3 separate regions of the Homo sapiens genome follow, and all the other regions are linked to region 2. Evidence: promoter capture Hi-C in 16 types of primary human blood cells and fetal thymus (Javierre and others, 2016). All regions are on one chromosome and are shown on one strand. Each heading gives the region's core, a stretch centred on a gene start or on the middle of the fragment in contact. The rest is flanking DNA. Distances are from core to core; before and after follow the strand shown.

The links. Contacts are between HindIII fragments. The CHiCAGO score rates a contact against its expected background, and 5 or more counts as called.
Region 1: a fragment that was not itself captured here is called in contact with the fragment with the promoter of NPIPB7 in region 2 in 12 of 17 cell types (monocytes, M0 macrophages, M2 macrophages and 9 more); the score reaches 13.2 in monocytes.
Region 3: a fragment that was not itself captured here is called in contact with the fragment with the promoter of NPIPB7 in region 2 in 2 of 17 cell types (M2 macrophages and monocytes); the score reaches 6.2 in M2 macrophages.

Annotation. Positions count from the first base shown.
Region 1 is chr16:28,541,922-28,546,007 of GRCh38, reverse strand. No RefSeq gene overlaps it. Among named protein-coding and RNA genes, the nearest start is that of NUPR1, 5.0 kb to the right of the region's middle. The HindIII fragment of the contact is 1,028 bases long and covers 1,484-2,511 here.
Region 2 is chr16:28,469,707-28,473,893 of GRCh38, reverse strand. NPIPB7 (nuclear pore complex interacting protein family member B7) reads left to right here and starts at 1,558. Exons shown (of 7, transcript NM_001396030.1): 1 at 1,558-3,521. The coding sequence starts at 3,456. It also overlaps a transcript of CLN3 not described here. RefSeq lists a silencer at 1-68. The HindIII fragment of the contact is 21,132 bases long and covers 1-4,187 here.
Region 3 is chr16:28,583,191-28,587,273 of GRCh38, reverse strand. SGF29 (SAGA complex associated factor 29) reads right to left here. Exons shown (of 10, transcript NM_138414.3): 3 at 2,286-2,361; 4 at 1,554-1,626. Among named protein-coding and RNA genes, the nearest start is that of SULT1A2, 12 kb to the left of the region's middle. The HindIII fragment of the contact is 953 bases long and covers 1,107-2,059 here.

The DNA.
Region 1 (4,086 bases), core at 748-3,247, 72 kb before region 2:
TGTGTGTGTGACACAGAGTTTCGCTCTTGTTGCCCAGGCTGGAGTGCAATGGCGCAATTTCAGCTCACTGCAACCTCCACCTCCTGGGCTCAAGCAATTTTCCTGCCTCAGCCTCCCAAGTAGCTGGGATTACAGCCATGTGCCACCAAGCCCGGCTAATTTTGTATTTTTAGTAGAGACGGGGTTTCACCATGTTGGTCAAGCTGATCTCAAACCCCTGACCTCAGGTGATCCACATGCCTTGGCCTCCCAAAGTGCTGGCATTACAGGCATAAGCCACCGCGTCCAGCCTTATTCTAGGTTTTTCTACTACTGTGTTTTATGTGGCTGTCTATTTTAGTTGTCAGGAGAAAATGTCACACCTCTATTATGGTGAAAACTGTGTATTACTCATAGTTATCTATACATTTAATGCAAAAATATAATTTGTAGTGTACATGATGTTCTGCAACCTGTGTTTTTCATTAGGAATGTATTATGGACATCTTTCTCATCAGAGATAGAGATACATTCTCTCTCTAAAGAGTATTGAATGGCTACAGTGTTTCACAGAAGGAAACTGATCAGTCACCTACTGATGGACATTTAGGTTGTTTCCGATTTTTGGTTTTTGCTTTTTTTAGAGACAGGGTGTTGCTCTGTCGCCCAGGCTGGAGTGCAGAGGCACCATCATGGCTCAAGCCATCCTCCTGCCTCATCCTCCTGAGTAGCTGGGACTACAAGTACACACCACCATGCCAGTCTTTTTTTTTTTTTTTTTTTAAGATATGGGGTCTCGCTATGTTGCCCAGGCTGGGTTTCCTGTTTTTCACTACTACAAACAAATGAACTTCCTTGTACCTGCCTCTTTACTCACCTCTGGGAAGATTTCTGTAGGAGAGACTCCTGAAAGTGGGACTGCAATATCAGGGGGATATAAGCATTTCAAAATCTTATCAATGTTGCCAAACCACCCATTAAAGACAGCATCTGGCTGGGCGCAGTGGCTCATGCCTGTAATCCCAACACTTTGGAAGGCTGAGGCAGGCGGATCACCTGAGGTTAGGAGTTCGAAACCAGCCTGACCAACATGGTGAAACCCCGTCTCTACTAAAAATACAAAAATTAGCTGGGCATCATGGCATCTGCCTGTAATCCCAGCTACTAGGGAGACTGAGGCAGGAGAATCGCTTGAACCCGGGAAGCGGAGGTTGCAGCTAGCCGAGATTGCGCCACTGCACTCCAGCCTGGGCAACAAGAGCAAAACTCCATCTCAAAGAAAAAAAAAAAAAGACAGCATCCACTGATATTTAAAACGATGATATCACACAGCCAAGAAAACTTGCAAATGCAGCTGCCAGATTTGACATTTTTATCTGGGATGGGGTTGTGAGATCATATGGATATATTTTGTTTAACCTCATTTAGATTTCTTGTGTCCTCTTGGAACACAGCGATGTCCAATCCACCTTAATTACGTATTCTGCCTTCAGCCTGGGAAGCTTCTGTTCCTTTGAGCTAGTGACTTCGTACATCCCTCAGGCTATCCAACAGAGAGGAAGTCTTGCTGTGTTGCCTAGGCTGGAGTGCAGTGGTGCGATCATGGCTCACTGTAGCCTCAACCTCCTGGGCTCAAGTCATCCACCTGCCTCAGCCTCCTGAGTACTTGGAGCTACAGGCATGCACCACCACGCCTGGCTAACTTTTGGATTTTTTTTGTAAAGATGAGATCTCGCTATGTTGCCCAGGCTGGTCTTGAGTTCCTGGGCTCAAGCAGTCCTCCTGCCTCGGCCTCCCAAAGTGCTGGGATTACAGGTGTCAGCCTTTGCATCTGGCCCACAAACAGCCATTCTTGTTCAAACTTTGCCTCCAGGCCTGGCGTGGTGACTCACGCCTGTAATTCCAGCTATTTGGGAGGCCGAGGTAAGAGGACCACTTTAGCCAAGGAGTTCAAGACCAGTCTCGGCAACATAGGGAGACCTCATCTCTACAAAAAATAAAATTAGCTGGGCATGATGGTGCGTGCCTAAAGTCCCAACTACTTGGGAGGCTGAGGTGGGAGGATCCCCTGAGCCCTAGAGGTCGAGGCTACAGTGAGCAAGGTTGCTCCACTGTATTCAGCCTGGACGACAGAGTGAGAACCTGTCTCAAAAATAAATAAATAGGCCGGGTGCGATGGCTCATGCCTGTAATCCTAGCACTTTGGAAGCCGAGGCGGGTGGATGACTTGAGGTCAGGAGTTTGAAATCAGTCTGGCCAACATGATGAAACCCTGTCTCTACTAAAAATACAAAAATTAGCTGGGTGTAGTGGTGCATGCCTGTGATTCCAGCTACTCAGGAGACTGAGACAGGAGAATCGCTTGAACCCGGGACACGGAGGTTGCAGTGAGCCGAGATCGTGCCACTGCACTCCAGCCTGGGTGACAGAGCAAGACTCTGTCTCAAAAAAAAGAGAAAAAAAGAAAAAAGAAAAGAAAATTAAAATTAAATTAATTAATTAATTAAAAATAAAAGAATTAGAAAACAAGCTTCACCTCCTCCAGGAAGTGTGCCTTCATCTCCCTATCTCCAGAGAGGTTAGGTGCCCTCCTGGGAGCTCCCAGCCCTCTGCGTTTACTCCAAGCTGATGGCGCTGGGTTGTCATAGGTGTGCCTAGCAACGTCACGAAGGTGTAACTCTAAGCAGGAAGAAAATAAACTTCCTCGTGGCAGATTTTACATGCACCTGGAGGCTTGAGGATGGGAAAATGAAACCATCCCTGTAAACCTCATGCAATTAATCAGAGAACAGAGAGGAGAAATGGAAACAAGCCAGGCTTGCAGCACACCCAGCGCTGATCATGAGGTCAGCTGCCCCCTGATCTGCTTCCTCTTAGTTGTCTGGTGCCTGCTGTTCTAGAATCACGTAGACCTGGTTACAAGATCATAGTTCCCCTTAACTGCACTAGAGATAGCAACTTGAACGTTATGAAACATTAAATGTTACTTTTGAGAAATTCCTTCAGGTCCTGCGTGCCGGTGAAGCGACTGACTCCGCCAGCCTGAAGGACCCCACCAGGAGCTAACTCCCCAAAAATGTCTTTTTCACATCATGATGATTTCATTTCCCTTGCTCTGACCAATGACCCCAATTTTCTAGCCTCTCACCCTCCATAATCCCCTTAAAAGCCCCATCCCAGAATTCCCTGGGGAGATGCATTCGCAGGTCTCCTCCTATCCCCTTGCACAGTGCCCTGTGATCATGAAACTCTCTCTACTGCATCCCTGCTGTCCAGTGTAATAGGGCTGTGACAGGGCAGCAGGCATACAAATCTGCTGTTCCTGTAACAAAAAGCACACCTCTACGTCTAGATGGAGCCACGTCTAGAGCCCTGCAGATCCATGCTAGAGGGGTTCCAGCAGGCTGGAGTACAATGGCGTGATCTCGGCTCACTGCAACCTCTGCCTCCTGGGTTCAAGAGATTCTTCCGCCTCAGCCTCCCGAGTATCTTGAATTACAGGTGCATGCCTCCACGCCCAGCTAATTTTTGTATTTTTAGTAAAGACGGAGTTTCACCATGTTGGCCAAGCTGGTCTTGAACTCCTGACCTGGTGATCCACCCGCCTCGGCCTCCCAAAGTGCTGGGATTACAGGCGTGAACTACCGCGCCTGGCCCTTTTTTTTGTTTTGTTTTGTTTTTTGAGATGGAGTCTCGCTCTGTCGCCCAGGCTGGAGTGCAGTGGCGCGATCTGGGCTCACTGCAAGCTCCGCCTTCCGGGTTCATGCCATTCTCCAGCCTCAGCCTCCCCAGCAGCTGGGACTACAGGTGCCCGCCACCACACCCGGCTAATTTTTGTATTTTTAGTAGAGACGGGGTTTCACCATGTTGGCCAGGCTGGTCTCCAACTCCTGACCTCAGGTGACCCACCCAACCTCGTCGGCCTCCCAAAGTGCTGGGATTACAGGCGTGAGCCACCATGCCCTTCCTCCTTCTCTCATAGGCTTCTTTCTTCCAGCACCTGTAAGATCAAGGCCAGGGAGACCTCCTTCCCTGGCTCCATCTGGGACAATCACAGTGTTTCTGTGGTCCCCTGTGAGGCTACAATTCGCCTCTCAGTTCCTGCAT
Region 2 (4,187 bases), core at 309-2,808:
TGGTTTTGATTTGCATGTCCCTGGTGACTAATGATGCTGAGCATCTTTTCATGTCCTTATTGACCGTACATATAGTTCTTTGAGAAATGTCTTCTCAGATCCTTTGCCCATTTTTAAATGGGATTGTCTTTTTTTATTAAAGAGCCAGAGATCTGAAGTCTTTTTGAGTTGTAAGATTTCTTCATATATTCTAGACAGAAGTCCCTTATAAGATACATGATTTGCAAATATTTTCTCCCATTCTGTGTTGTCTTTTTACTTTTTTGATATTGTCTTTTGGTACGGAAAGACACTTATTTTGATGAAGTCCAATTTATCTATTTTTTGTTTGGTTGCTTGTGCTTCTGGTAACATATCTAAGTGGGAGCCAGGTGCAGTGGCTCATGCCTGTAATCCCAGCACTTTGGGAGGCCAAGGCGGGAGGTTTGCTTGAGACCAGGAGTTCAAGACCAGCATGAGCAACATTGCAAGGTTCTATCTCTATAAAAAATTAAAATAATGATAAAAGGAGGCCGGGCGTGGTGGCTCATGCCTATAATCCCAGCATTCTGGGAGGCAGGAGGACAACTTGGGCCAGGAGTTCAAGACCAGTCTGGGCATCATGGCAAAAAAAGAAAAAAGAAAAAATTATCCTGGCAAGGTATGCCTGTAGTCCCAGCTACTTGGGAGGCTGAGGCGGGAGAATTGCTTGAGCCCGAGAGGTGGAGGTTGTAGTGAGCTGAGATTGAACCATTGCACTCCAGCCTGGGTGACAGGAATGAAACCCTGTCTCAAAAAATAAAAATAAAATAAGCCAGGTGTAGTGCTGCGTGCCTGTACTCCCAGCTACTCTGGAGGCTGAAGTGGGAGGATCACTTGAGCCTAGGAATTCGAGGCTGCAGTGAGCTATGATCATACCACTGCACCCCAATGTGGGCACAGAGCAAGACCCTATCTCTTAAAAAACAAACAAAGAGGGGCGGGGTGCAGTGGCTCACGCCTGTAATCCCAGCACTTTGGGAGGCTGAGGCGGGCAGATCACGAGGTCAGGAGATCGAGACCATCCTGCCTAACACGGTGAAACCCCATCTCCTTTTTTTTTTTTTTTTTTTTTGAAACAGAGTTTCATTCTTTTTGCCCAGACTCCCGGGTTCAAGCGATTCTCCTGCCTCAGCCTCCTGAGTAGCGGGGATTACAAGGGTGTGCCACCACACCCAGCTAATTTTTTATATTTTTAATAGAGGCGGGGTTTCACCGTGTTGGCCAGGCTGGCCTCAAACTCCTGACCTCAAGTGATCCGCCCACCTCGGCCTCCCAAAGTGCTGGGATTACAGGCGTGAACCAGCGCGCCCAGCCTCCTACATTTTCTTCTAAGAGTTTTATAGTTTTAGCTCTTACATTTAGATCTTGTTTTCATTTTGAATTAACTTTTTTGCAGGTGGTGTGATACAGCAGTCTGTGCAGAAAAAAGTTAACATAGTAGACCCTAACTGCTAACTTTATTTTTACTTTTATTTTTTATTTTGTTTAGAGACAGGGTTTTTGTCACCCAGGATGGAGTGAAGTGGCGTGATCATAGCTCACCGTAACCTTGAACTCCTGGGCTCCTCTGCCTCAGCCTCCCAATTAGCCACCACACCCAGCTACCTTTTGTACATTTTTTTGGTAGAGACGGTGTCTCACTATGTTGCCCAGTCTGGTCTCAAACTCCTCAGCTCAAATGATCTGCCCACCTTGACCTCCAGAGATACTGGGATTACAGGCGTGGGCCACTGCACCAGACCCAGGTTTATTCTTACACCAATACAACACTGTCTTAATTACTATAGCTTTGTAGTGAGCTTTTGAAAATAGGAAATGTGAATCCTCCAACTTTTTTTTTTTGGAGACGGAGTCTCGCTCTGTTGCTCAGACTGGAGTGCAGTGGCACTATCTCAGCTCACTGCAAACTCCATCTTCCAGGTTCAAGTGATTCTCCTGCCTCAGCCTACCAAGTATCTGGGACTACAGGCAGGTGCCACCATGCACAGATTCCTTGGACATCCCTGAGAGGTCAATCATGAAGGTCAACTTGGTTTTCTCCCCCTCATTTGGGTTCAGAATTTAAAGTCCACACACACAGGCAGTAAGATGATTATAGATAAGGACATCATCACTCGGTTTCGGATGTTAAATTGTCTAGGTGGGTTAGGGGTGATTTGAGATCACACAACCTTGTGCCACAAAGAGGAATTCCCAGGCCAGAGGGAGACATTTTATTGCCATGTTATGATCTTATCATTGAGTTGAAAGGCAATCTTGTTTCATTTTGGATTCTTTCTTATGTTTATGTCTTATAAGGGCACTTTGAATTTCCAAGCAAATAATAATTTTGAATTAGCTTTTAATCATTGACTTCTAGCACAGTTATATGATCAGAAACGTGCTGTGTGATTTGATTGCTCTCAAATATATTGAGATTTGCTGGAACAAAATAAGTCAGGTTAATTTTTGTAAATGTACCATGCTTGCTTAAAATGAATGTATCTACATTTGTTCCTGAGATACGGGTTGATGGACGGATGGCTACATGGATGTGATGGAGATGGTTTACTATCGGGACCTTCCGCATCCTGCTGATGTTTTGTTGCTTAGGATATGAATGGCTGAGCGGAGGCTGTAAAACCTGGCACTCTGCTTGGGTATGAGGTTCTTCCTGCCATCCTGCCATCATTTGTTTTTTATGTTTTGTCGCCAAAAGTGACCTTGAGGAACCCTGGGAGCTCAGGAAGGAAGGAGCGCCCAGAAGCAGGGACAGGGAGCTGGTTGGGGAGGACCAGAAATCAGGTTTGTGAAGGTTCCAGAGAGGACCTGTCCTTGCGAGGAGTGTGGGAGACTGAGATGGGGGAGGGGTCATTGGAATGATGCGGGCGCTACTTGGCATTGTCCATTGTGAGGCACCACCGGGGTCATCAGGGATTGGTGGAGAGGGAGTATAAAGCCCCAGGTTTGCTAAGGGAGGGCCCAGACCGAAGAAGGTTTGGCGGATAGCAGAACCTTTTTGTCTCCCTCTAATTGCTCCTAAGCCTCACGCTCCCTTGCCCCGCGTGTCCTGTTGCTTCCCTGATCTTCTCCGTGACCTGTAGCTAAACCTTCCACCAGCGCTTGAGAACTTAATTTGAACCGGATCCTTTCCCAGACCCCTTTCTTCTTCTCCTCCTCCACCTCCTCCAGGTGCCCAACAGCCCCCTTCTCCTCCTTTCCCTTCCCTTACTTCCCCCCTTCCCCTCCCCTTCCCCTCCCCCTCCCCTCCCCTTCCCCTCCCCTTCCCCTTCCCCTCCCCCTCCCCTTCCCCTCCCCCTCCCCTTCCCCTCCCCCTCCCCTCCCCCGCCCCAACTCAGATCCGGCCCCGGTCCCCGTCCCCTTCCCTCCCCCCTGCCCTAAGCCACCTCCACCTCTGTCCTGGCCGCCTCAGGGCACCCTGAAAGGATCAGGACATGCGGCTGCGCTTTTGGCTCCTCATTTGGCTCCTGCTGGGATTTATCAGCCATCAGCCCACCCCTGTGAGTAGACGCTGGACCCGCGGGGTTTCTTCCTTTTTACTGGGCTGTGTCACGCGGCATGAAATTACACAGCTCAGGCCTGTAATCCCAGCACTTTAGGGGGCCGAGGTGGGCAGATCACTTGAGTCCAGGAGTTGAAGACTAGCCAGGGCATCATGGCGAAACCCCATCTCTACAAAAAATTCCAAAAAAGATTAGTCGGGCCTGGTGGTGCGTACCTGTTATCCCAGTTACTGGAGAGGCTGAGGTGGGAGGATCGCTTGGGCCGAGGAGCTGGACGTTGCAGTGAGCTGAGATGGCCCCGCTGCACTCTTGTCTCTAACAAACAAAATGGACCAAAACAAAGTGAAATGTCATTTGATTTGTGTCATCTGGTTTGATGACTTTTTTTTTTTTTTTTTTAGACAGAGTCTCACTCTGTCGCCCAGGCTGGAGTGCAGTGGCAAGATCTCGGCTCACTGCAACCTCCGCTTCCGGGGTTCAAGCAATTGTCCTGCCTCAGCCTCCTGAGTAGCTCAGATTACAACGCCTGGCTAATTTTTGTATTTTTAGTAGAGACGGGGTTTCACCATGTTCGCCAGGATAGTCTCCATCTCTTGACCTCGTGATCCGCCTGCCTCGGCCTCCCAGTGCCGGGATTACAGGCGTGAGCCACCGCGCCTGGCC
Region 3 (4,083 bases), core at 334-2,833, 110 kb before region 2:
AGTTTAAAAAATCTCAATTGTTTCACGCACAAATCATAAATGGATGCTAAAACTAGTGTGTTTGATATGAACAGGATAGTTACAGTCTCAAAAGTATCTCCCAAGACACTTATTAATTATGCAATGGAGGCCAGGTGCAGAGGCTCACACCTGTAATCCCAGCACTTTGGGAGGCCAAGGTGGGTGGATCGCTTGAGCTGAGGAGTTCAAGACCAGCCTGGGCAACATGGCAAAACCCCTCTCTACAAAAAATACAAAAATTAGGTGGAGTGGTGGCAGGTGCCTATTGTCCCAGCTACTCAGGAGGCTGAGGCAGGAGGATCACTTGAGGCCAGGAGTTTGAGGCTGAAGTGAGCCATGATTACGCCACTCCACTCCAGCCTGGATGACAGACTGAGACCCTGTCTTAATCGATCAATCACACAATGGAAAATAGCAGTAATCTGATACAAGAGAAACGTGGAAAATACCACTTTAACCAATGGCACAGACAGCATCCTGTGCCGTCTAATATGACCCACCAGAGACACCTCTTCTGTGCCAAAAGTGTAAAGCATGAATCCTACTAGTGAGGAAATGTCAGATAGTTAATACCAATGTTGGAGCTCCACCCCAAATAAACAGAGCCTCTGGGCACAGTCAGACTTCAGAACCAGTGTGTTCTCAAAGTAGAGGAATGTAATGTTCAAGTTCCTGAATCTCCTGCAGAGATTCAAGGAAACAGTGTTTCCAGATCATTTTTTTATTTTAGTTTTTTTTTTTTTTTTGAGGCAGAGCCTTGCTCTGTTGCCCAGGCTGGAGTGCAGTGGCACGATCTTAGCTCACTGCAACCTCCGCCTCCTGCCTCAGCCTCCCAAGTAGCGTGCGCCACCACACCTGGCTAATTTTTGTATTTTTAGTAGATATAGGGTTTCGCTATGCTAGCCAGGCTGGTCTCAAACCCCCAACCTCAGGTGATCCACCCACCTTGCGATTGCAGGCATGAGCCACTGTGCCTGCCCGGCCTTAAGATTATTTTAAAAGCAGGAGTTTTCTGGAAGTGAAACTTCTCCATCTCAGAACCATAAAACCTTCAGGTCATCTGAGTATGACTTCCCAGCCAAGCTTACAGACACATGCCACCACGCTCAGCTAATTAAAAACTTTTTGTAGAGACAAAGTCTCACTTTGTTGCCCAGGCTGGTCTCAAACACCTGCGTTCAAGTGATCCTCTAACCTCGGCCTCCCAATCACCTCTGTAATGTTGTGATTACAGATCTGAGCTACCCAGCCCCTGATATCCCTATTTTAATGACTCTGCCAAGGTCATAGAGCCAGTAAACGGCAGTGTTGACTCACGCCTTGCCACCTTCTGTAAAGGCATTAGCAGCAGAGGTAACTGGAAGAGTGGGCCTGGCAGTGGGCCAGGGAATGCGGGACCCAAGCGAGAGGCTGGGAGTAGCAATCAGCTTATCCATGGGAGGAAGGCAGGCTGGGGACTTGGTCCAAATGGACCTGCAGCCCAGCCCCCAGGAAAGGAGGGAGCGGCGATGAAGTGGGTGCACGGTACTCACTTGCACTCAGCCTCTGCATCGGCCTTGGCGGTTGTGTAGAGGCCACGCAGCTTTGTCCGGTAATAGGGAGAAACTGCAGAGGAAACACAGGGATAAGGAGGCAGGGCCAGGGCAGGCACAGTAGCATGGCACTGCTTCCATGCACCGGAATCACACTCGTGGAGGCACAGAGAGGCCGTAGCTGCAGTCAGAGCTCTGCTGGCTCAGGAGTGCTCCTGAGGCGGATGCCCCCAGGCTCCATGAGTCCGCATTTCCATATGGTACAAATGCCATCCCTACATCTGCGAGAGTACTGTCTTACCTTTTCTCCATCATGACACTCACAGAAAATATTTGTCAGGACCCAGGAAAACACAATTCTCAGAGTTACCCAGAGTAAGAAAGCCCCAGCCCCAGGATCTCACCACCTGAGGGCCTCAGGGCAGATGCAGGGGCCGCCTGGGAAGGAAGCTCCTTTCTAGAAAACACCAGCTAACTGGGGCGCTTGTGTGCTCTAAGGGCAAGCTTCCCTAGATACAGCCTCATTTCACTGCCTTTCGAATCCTCAGAGTAGAGGGATTTTAGTTCTTCAGGTCACCCAGATTAACGGAAAGCTGTCCCTCCTGCTGCATTTTGGAATATGCAGATACATGCAAATCTATTTTGAATACAATGACCACCTCGGTCACAGTCTTGGCCATACTCACCCTAGCCCCATCTCATCCCCTTTCTCTCCTGAGCCCAGCTACTCACTCTTGTTCTCTGTCTGCATCCGCTCATGGGTCTTCTGGATGTTCACTAAGTTGTGTTCGCTCCGCGAACGCTCTTCCTGTAAGGAAAAGAGCAGCAGGACATGACGGTGGCCCTTTGTGCTGCTGTGGTACCCTGCCAGCCAGGCCAGAGTCCCCATCCCCAAAATACGGCCCTCATTTTCTTTTTTTTTTTTTTTTTTTGAGATGGAGTCTCACTCTGTCGCCCAGGCTGGAGTGTAGTGGCACGATCTCGGCTCACTGCAAGCTCCGCCTCCCGGGTTCACGCCTTTCTCCTGCCTCAGCCTCCCGAGTAGCTGGGACTACAGGCGCCCGCCACCACGCCTGGTTAATTTTTTGTAGTTTTAGAAGAGACGGAGTTTCACCGTCTTAGCCAGGATGGTCTCGATCTCCTGACCTCGTGATCCGCCTGCCTCGGCCTCCCAAAGTGCTGGGATTACAGGCGTAAGCCAATGCGCCCGGCCTAATTTTTTGTATTTTTAGTAGAGACAGGGTTTCGCCATCTTGGCCAGGCTGGTCTTGAACTCCTGACCTCGTGATCCACCTGCCTCGGTTTCCCAAAGTGCTGGAATTACAGGCAAGGGCGCCCGGCTATGGCCCTCATTTTCTAAATCCAAATTCAGGAGTTCAAGATGATTTTCTCCTTTGACTAATGCAAAAGCATTATAAAAGGCCTTAAAGGGCCTGGTGCAGTGGCTTAAGCCTGTAATCCCAGCACTTTGGAAGGCCAAAGTGGGCAGATCACTTGAGATCAGGAGTTCAAGACCAGCCTGGCCAACATGATGAAACCCCACCTCTACTAAAAATACAAAAATTAGCCGGGCATTGTAGCATGTGCGTATAGTCCTAGCTACTCGGGAGGCTGAGGTTGCAGTGAGCTGAGATCATGTCACTGCACTCCAGCCTGGGTGACAGAGTGAGACTGTTAAAAAAAAAAAAAAAAGAAGGCATTAAAGTTAAATCATAAGTGATATCTTTAATGATAGTCCTTTATCAAAGAGACAAATCAATCTATACAGTCAACGCAATCCCCATCAAAATTCTAATTGACTTCTTTGCAGAAATTGACAAGTTCATCCTAAAATTCATATGGAAATTCACGGGACCCAGATTATCCCCAATCTTGGAAAAAGAAAAAAAAAGTTGGAGAACTCATACTTCCCAATTTCAAAATTTATTACGAAGCTACGGTAATCACGATGGTGTGGTACTGGCATATAGATCAACAGAACAGAATTCAGAGTCCAGAAATAGACACATACAGGTATGATCAATTGATGTGGAGAAGAAGGGGTGGGGAAGAATGCTGGTGCAATTCCTCCCATATCAGTCATCCTGGGAGCAGAGCTGCAACTGCAGATGCTGGAAACTGAGACAGATCCTAAGAAAGAAATTATGACTATGCTTTTTAGCCTTTATGTGAGAATTTTTAAGTGCCTGATGGGTGGGTTGCGCCTTTACCTCAACCTGCAAAATGAGGTTAACAGTGAACACAGCTAGCTAGCTGCCTAGTGCTCAAGACAGCCAATAGTCCATACCTGTGTAACCCCACCCTATATAAATGGGAATGGATTGGGGTTGGGGGGGGATACTTGCTAGACTAGTACTGCTGCCGCTGCAATCTGGACCAGGTACAGTGGCCAAAGCTAACATCCCTTACAAAGGTGGAAAAGTTTGGGTGAAAACCAATCACAAATGGAGAGGAGAAACAGTAGCCGAGTTAACAGAACAAATTAAATGGGTTATGCAATGAGGGAAATCCAATATTGTACTCATACCTC